Regions from separate parts of the Homo sapiens genome. Here region 2 is linked to region 1. The links are contacts of gene promoters, found by promoter capture Hi-C in human tissues and cell types (Jung and others, 2019). All regions are on one chromosome and are shown on one strand. Each heading gives the region's core, a stretch centred on a gene start or on the middle of the fragment in contact. The rest is flanking DNA. Distances are from core to core; before and after follow the strand shown. Region 1 holds the start of NOVA1 (NOVA alternative splicing regulator 1). Region 2 overlaps LOC105370419 (a long non-coding RNA gene).

Region 1 (2,895 bases), core at 278-2,777:
ACTTTGGGTAAATTTCTAATATCTTTAAACCTAAACTACCTCATAAAATGGGGACAGTAATAACTACACGACATACTGCATGTAATTGACACAGCATGCAAAGTGGATTGTTTGCCACGTGGTAAGTAAGCCCTTAATAAATGGCAAGACGTTAAGGGATTTGCCCAAGATACACTTGTAAAACAGCCTACAAGGACCAGAAACCAAGGAAGATTTCAGACTCCGAATCCCATGCTTTTCTACTACCCTGCTTCCTAGAACACTGAGTTAATTAAACTACTAATTTGATGAACGACCTTGAGCAAAATACTTCACTGAGTCAGTTTACTCATCTGTAAAATGAGGGACTTGATTTAGATAATGCCTAACGTCCTTTCAGAGTCTATTCCAGCTACATTAGATGTTTTATCCGGTGTTGCAGGGTTGACGTTCAGGTCCGTGATATGTCCAAGATCTGTATAATCATAAGCCGTGCACATGGCAATGAATTTTATTCCGACACTCGTATTTCGTTCAATATTTAGTTCTGTGTGCACACTCAGCTGTTGCCTGTCTTTAGTCTGCCTACCAGCGCCTTGTGAAGGGAAGACCCACACCTAGCTTTATTTATTTATATCCTGGCTTGTTCCCGAAAGGATTTAAGGCGGCGAGTGACACTCTAAGTCCCCTAACGGTGTCACACAGTGCGATTAAGAAATCCTCTTTGGATGAAATCATACCGTAGAAAATCGCCGATGAGTGAGATGCTAACTAATTAATGTCTTTTACCCAACTCTTAAAAATAAAAACTAATGCACCTAGCAAGAAGTCCTGGAAGCATACAGTGCTGGCTCTCCCTCCAGCTCTGACGCTGTCCCACCCGTTGTCAACGGTCACTCGAATGCCCTTCTTAGACTAGCCAAAATTGTCGCCGCTCCAGTACCAGCTGGACCAAGATCCCACCCCACCCCTTCGCTGCCCCTCATCACCCAAGTTTCCTGATTGGGAAGGGGCCCGAAGAACCTTTCTCACATTTCTATTTTATTGGCTGGCACGGCTGTCAGTAATCTCTCCTTCCCGCCTTCTAGCCTAGCGCGTTTCGTGGACCCCTTGGTTTCTGCGACAAGCCGCTTACGTTTGCCTGAGCCGTGTTGCCGGGGACCAGCGACCTTTCACCCCTCCCTTCCCACAGGAGCGCCCCGGCCCCCGCCCCCGCCCCAACCGCCGGCGCGCGTCCTCACCGCGCACGCGCTCCCCTCGCGCGCGCACACGCTCGCGCACACACGCTCCCTCGCCCCCGCCCGCGGAGTTCCCCCTCACCCCTCAGCCGCCCCGCCGGCTGAAGCATCGGCGCTGGGAGGCGGCGGCGCTGCTGAGAGGCAGGGACCCGAGCGCGAAGTGTGTGGGAGTCTACGAACTCAACCCCTCTCTACCCTCCCCTCACAGCCACCCCCCTCCCTCCCCGCCAGCCCCCCCCAACAAGCGGGAGAAATAATGAGCGAGACCGGGCGGCAGCAGCAGCAGCGCCGAGCAGCCCAGGCAACGGCAGAACCGCTCCGGCAGCGGCGGCGGCGGCAGCACCAGCAGCGGGAGCGAGCGCAACGCTAGCGCGGCGCGGGGACCGCCGCGCTCCTTCCCGGCTCCTGCCCTCCTCTGCCGCTCGCTCCTCTCTCGGCATCCACCTCCTTCCCCTCCTCCTGCTCATTCACTCTTTCCCTCACTCTCCCCTCCTCCTCGGCTTCTCCCCGCGCCCCGCCAGCCCTCGCGCTCTCCCACTCCCTCTGCCTGTCCTCCCCGGTCCCCTCCTCCCGCTCATTCACTCGCCCCTCTCCCTTCTCCACTCTCTCCCCCTGTCTCCTTTCTTCTTCTTCTTTCACCCTCCGTCTCTCACACCCCCTCCATTCCCCTGTCTCCTTTCTGACACTGCACTGCAGCTGCTCCTCAGCCCTGCCCCCTCCCCAGTGAGAACAAACCAGCAACATTGCTTTTTTTCCTAAAGAGATTTATATTGATCCGATTAAAAAAAAAAAACCTTAAGAAACCCCAAACGCAAAAAAAAAAAAAAAAAAAAAAGAAAAAAGAAAAGAAAAAGCCAAAACAAAAGGGAGAACCTTCTCCCGGTAGCAGCGGCAGGAACTGCAAACATGATGGCGGCAGCTCCCATCCAGCAGAACGGGACCCACACTGGGGTTCCCATAGACCTGGACCCGCCGGACTCGCGGAAAAGGCCGCTGGAAGCCCCCCCTGAAGCCGGCAGCACCAAGAGGACCAATACGGGCGGTGGGTATCGCTTCCACCTCCCCGCTGGCCCCATCCCCCGCCGCCCGCCCCTGCCTCCCTCCCTCGCCGTCCTCCCTCCCTCCTTCCCTCCCTCCCTCCCGCGGCCCGGACACCTCCAGCCCGAACCCGGCGGCCCCTGCGCCCCTGCCCCGCGCCCCCTCCCCTGCACCTGCCCCGCGCCTAGGTGTCCCCGACACATTTCCATTTCTGTGTTTATCATTCATCAAAATGGCGACCAGTTTTTCGGAATAGACCTATCTTTCCATTTAATCGGTCCAGAGGTTGACCATGTAAATATCCTAGACCTGGGCAAGAAGGTCCATTCAGGAGGAGGAGGAGGATGACCCCGGAGTGAGGTGATGGCCGCCCGAAGATGCGCGCTGCGTTTAACAGTCTGATAAAATAAATAAATAAATGGCACTTGGGTAGCGGATTGCGAATGACTGGGGCGCCGGAGAGTTTTTCCTCTCTCCATCCTCTTGCTTTGGGCCACAAGTAGTATGCAAAATCTTGATGAGTGCATGCCCTTACCGCACTTAGATTGTCGGTGCAAATATTTCATTGATTTGTCTTCAGGGGGGTGCATACGAGGGTGGGGGTGTCTGGAACGGTGACTTGTTAGTTAACATCCTGCGC
Region 2 (2,911 bases), core at 348-2,847, 370 kb before region 1:
AGTGGCGCAATCTCGGCTCACTGCAAGCTCCGCCTCCCGGGTTCACGCCATTCTCCCGCTTCAGCCTCCCGAGTAGCTGGGACTACAGGCGCCCGCCACCACGCCCGGCTAATTTTTTGTTTTTAGTAGAGACGGGGTTTCACCATGTTAGCCAGGATGGTCTCGATCTCCTGACCTCGTGATCCGCCCACCTTGGCCTCCCAAAGTGCTGGGATTACAGGTGTGAGCCGCTGCACCCAGCCTCATTTTTTTTTAGAATGATCTTTCTCTTCTACCTATACAAACCATGCTCACTCTCTCAAAGCCTTACTTACCTGACACATCATCAATTGGCTTTTCTTCAGAAATCCCTTTCCCTTTTCTCTGGACTCATATGTTATTACCAGTAGTTTTGATTTTGATTTGATTTGAATTATTTATATAAAATATCCCTAAGTTTTAATTTAACTTAATCCTTCCTCTCTAAAACTATTAGTTGCTTAAAATTTTACAACATTTGGCTAAGCATTATAAGCATCTTATAATGCTTAGTGAATATATGTCAAATGAATAAAGAAGTAAAAGTTACTGAGATAGTAACTTAAACATTAATGAAACAGTCAGTTAATATTATATTCATTTTATTGACTAGTTTTTCCTTGACAGTTGAAATTTAGCAAGATCTTGTAAGAGGTCACCATGAAAAACTATTTTTGGAATATTTTATTTTCTCAACTATCCTTTTCTTTGTCTTTGTATTTTAAGAAAAGTTGAAGTGATTAAATTACAATCAGATTTCACCCTAAACTAACCTTAAAGTAAGTCATAGTGGGCACTGTAAAGTTTTCCCCCAAAATGTGTTGTACTCAGAAACTGAGTACTCAGAAACAAGAGAAGAAATAAAAACAATGACGTATTCCTGGAAATTAGGAAGAGGATTTGTTTCATTGCAAAGCTTGGTAAAGTACCAGAATATCTTCCTGAAGATTCATAATTTCATGACCATAGTCAATCTTGACAATAACTTAACAATTAATGCTTACAACAAAATTAGAAAAAAGGCATAGAATTTGATTTATAAGTACATTCGGGGTAGCAGCCACTAGAATATGGATGTAAGATTTGTTTTGACAGTTCCTTACAATATAAGTTTGTGATACTTTGATAAAAATGTATATTATTGGCTGGGCGTGGTGGCTCATGCCTGTAAATCCCAGCACTTTGGGAGGCTGAGGTGGGCGGATCACGAGGTCAGGAGATCGAGACCATCCTGGCTAACATGGTGAAACCCCGTCTCTACTAAAAATACAAAAAAAAAAAAAAAAAATAGCTGGGCGTGGTGGCGGGTGCCTGTAGTCCCAGCTACTAGGGAGGCCGAGGCCAGGGAATGGCGTGAACCCAGGAGGCGGAGCTTGCAGTGAGCCGAGATTGCGCCACTGCACTCCAGCCTGGGTGACAAAGCGAGACTCCGTCTCAAAAAAAAAAAAAAAAATGCATATTATTAGCTCCTTCAGTTTGGATAACATTTGCCAGATCTTAGAATGATGCTGACTAAAATTATGATCTTGACTTCTTTATTACAATAAGATATTTTTAGATGATATTAAATTTCATTTAGTTGTACAAGACCTCAAAGCCACCAATAAGAGAGCACTAATTTATTCTGGGTGTTCTGATACAGTAGAATTTTAGGAAGCATTAAGCTTATATAATAATAGTAGTTAAGGGACTACTCCTACCTCAAAATGACATTTCTGGCTCTATTTTTTTTTCAAAATAACTTTGAAGTAAAGATTTCAGACCACACTCTGCCTCATGTTACATAAGTTTGGTTATATTAAATGTCTAACTATACAAAAAATGAGAAGAATAAAAAATATCATTTAAGATACAAAATACATTCCAACTTTTATCTCATCAGAGCATTTGTTTTTGTTTTTTTTCTACTTACTTCTAAAATGCACTATGAGTCTACAAATGGCTAAACACTTGGTTTATACTCTGAATGATTATCCATCACCATGAAAGGATCTAGAAGTGCTTCTTCAATTTACAATTATTATTTATCTTTAATAATGCAAAGGAAATAAGGGAAATCTAATTAACTCCTCAAGGACAAAGAAAGGTTTCAACAAGTGAGTGACCTGATATTAAAGAATCAGAGATGCTACTCAGCCTCTGACTTTTCCAGCTTCTGCTGTACTCTTGTGAAGATGTACATCCTTCACTGATCTAAAGCAGGGTTATAAAATATAATAGAATTAGGAAATTGCCGATGCAGATCATAAAATCTTTAATCTAAAACTCTTTAATGAAGTTCTAATTTTTCATATAGACATTTTAGTTAAGTCACAATTTTACATTTTTAATCTTTAATAATTTATCTACCAGTAACAGTTGAAGAATAAAAACAAAATACTCAGGAGAGCTAAATTTCTGATTTATGTATTTGGAAGAGTACTAACTGTCTACATCCCAAAGATTTTGCAATAATTTTGCACGTGTTATCTTTTTAACTCTGGAAATATCACTGTGACTTAGATTATCTGATCTTCATTTTTATAGATGAGGACAGGACAGTCAAGCTTATGTAAGATAGTTCAGTAATGTCACAAAGAGGAAAAAAAAACAGTTAACAAGTCAAAATCTAAGGCAGTGATTTAACTATTAATTTTAGGAAAACAGAGAATTTGCACTTTAAAAGGATCATGGAAAACCAACCGTAAAAAAGAGAGAATGCCTGCTTTGTTTTTGATCCTGGACAGGAATTCTTTAACATCTCACTGATAATCTGAATAGGCTATGATCCCAGGTCCAAGAACTGAATCCAACCAGCACCTGTGCATGACGCTGAGTCATCTATGTGATACTTCTTGCTGCCTTGAAAGGACCTCATGCCTAGAACAGAAAGTACTTTCAGGGAAAGAATGGC

What was found. The method cuts DNA at HindIII sites, captures the fragments that hold promoters and counts their contacts. A contact is called where the count stands out against the background at its distance.
Region 2: a contact is called between a fragment that was not itself captured here and the fragment with the promoter of NOVA1 in region 1, in 1 of the 25 tissues and cell types used here (dorsolateral prefrontal cortex).

Annotation. Positions count from the first base shown.
Region 1 is chr14:26,596,665-26,599,559 of GRCh38, reverse strand. It overlaps NOVA1 (NOVA alternative splicing regulator 1), which reads left to right and starts at 1,527. Exons shown (of 5, transcript NM_002515.3): 1 at 1,527-2,259. The coding sequence starts at 2,124. It overlaps NOVA1-DT (NOVA1 divergent transcript), which reads right to left and starts at 913. Exons shown (of 7, transcript NR_147061.1): 1 at 1-913. The HindIII fragment of the contact is 5,668 bases long and covers 1-2,895 here.
Region 2 is chr14:26,967,174-26,970,084 of GRCh38, reverse strand. It overlaps LOC105370419 (a long non-coding RNA gene), which reads right to left. Exons shown (of 3, transcript XR_001750687.1): 2 at 2,701-2,877. Among named protein-coding and RNA genes, the nearest start is that of MIR4307, 60 kb to the right of the region's middle. The HindIII fragment of the contact is 4,451 bases long and covers 1-2,911 here.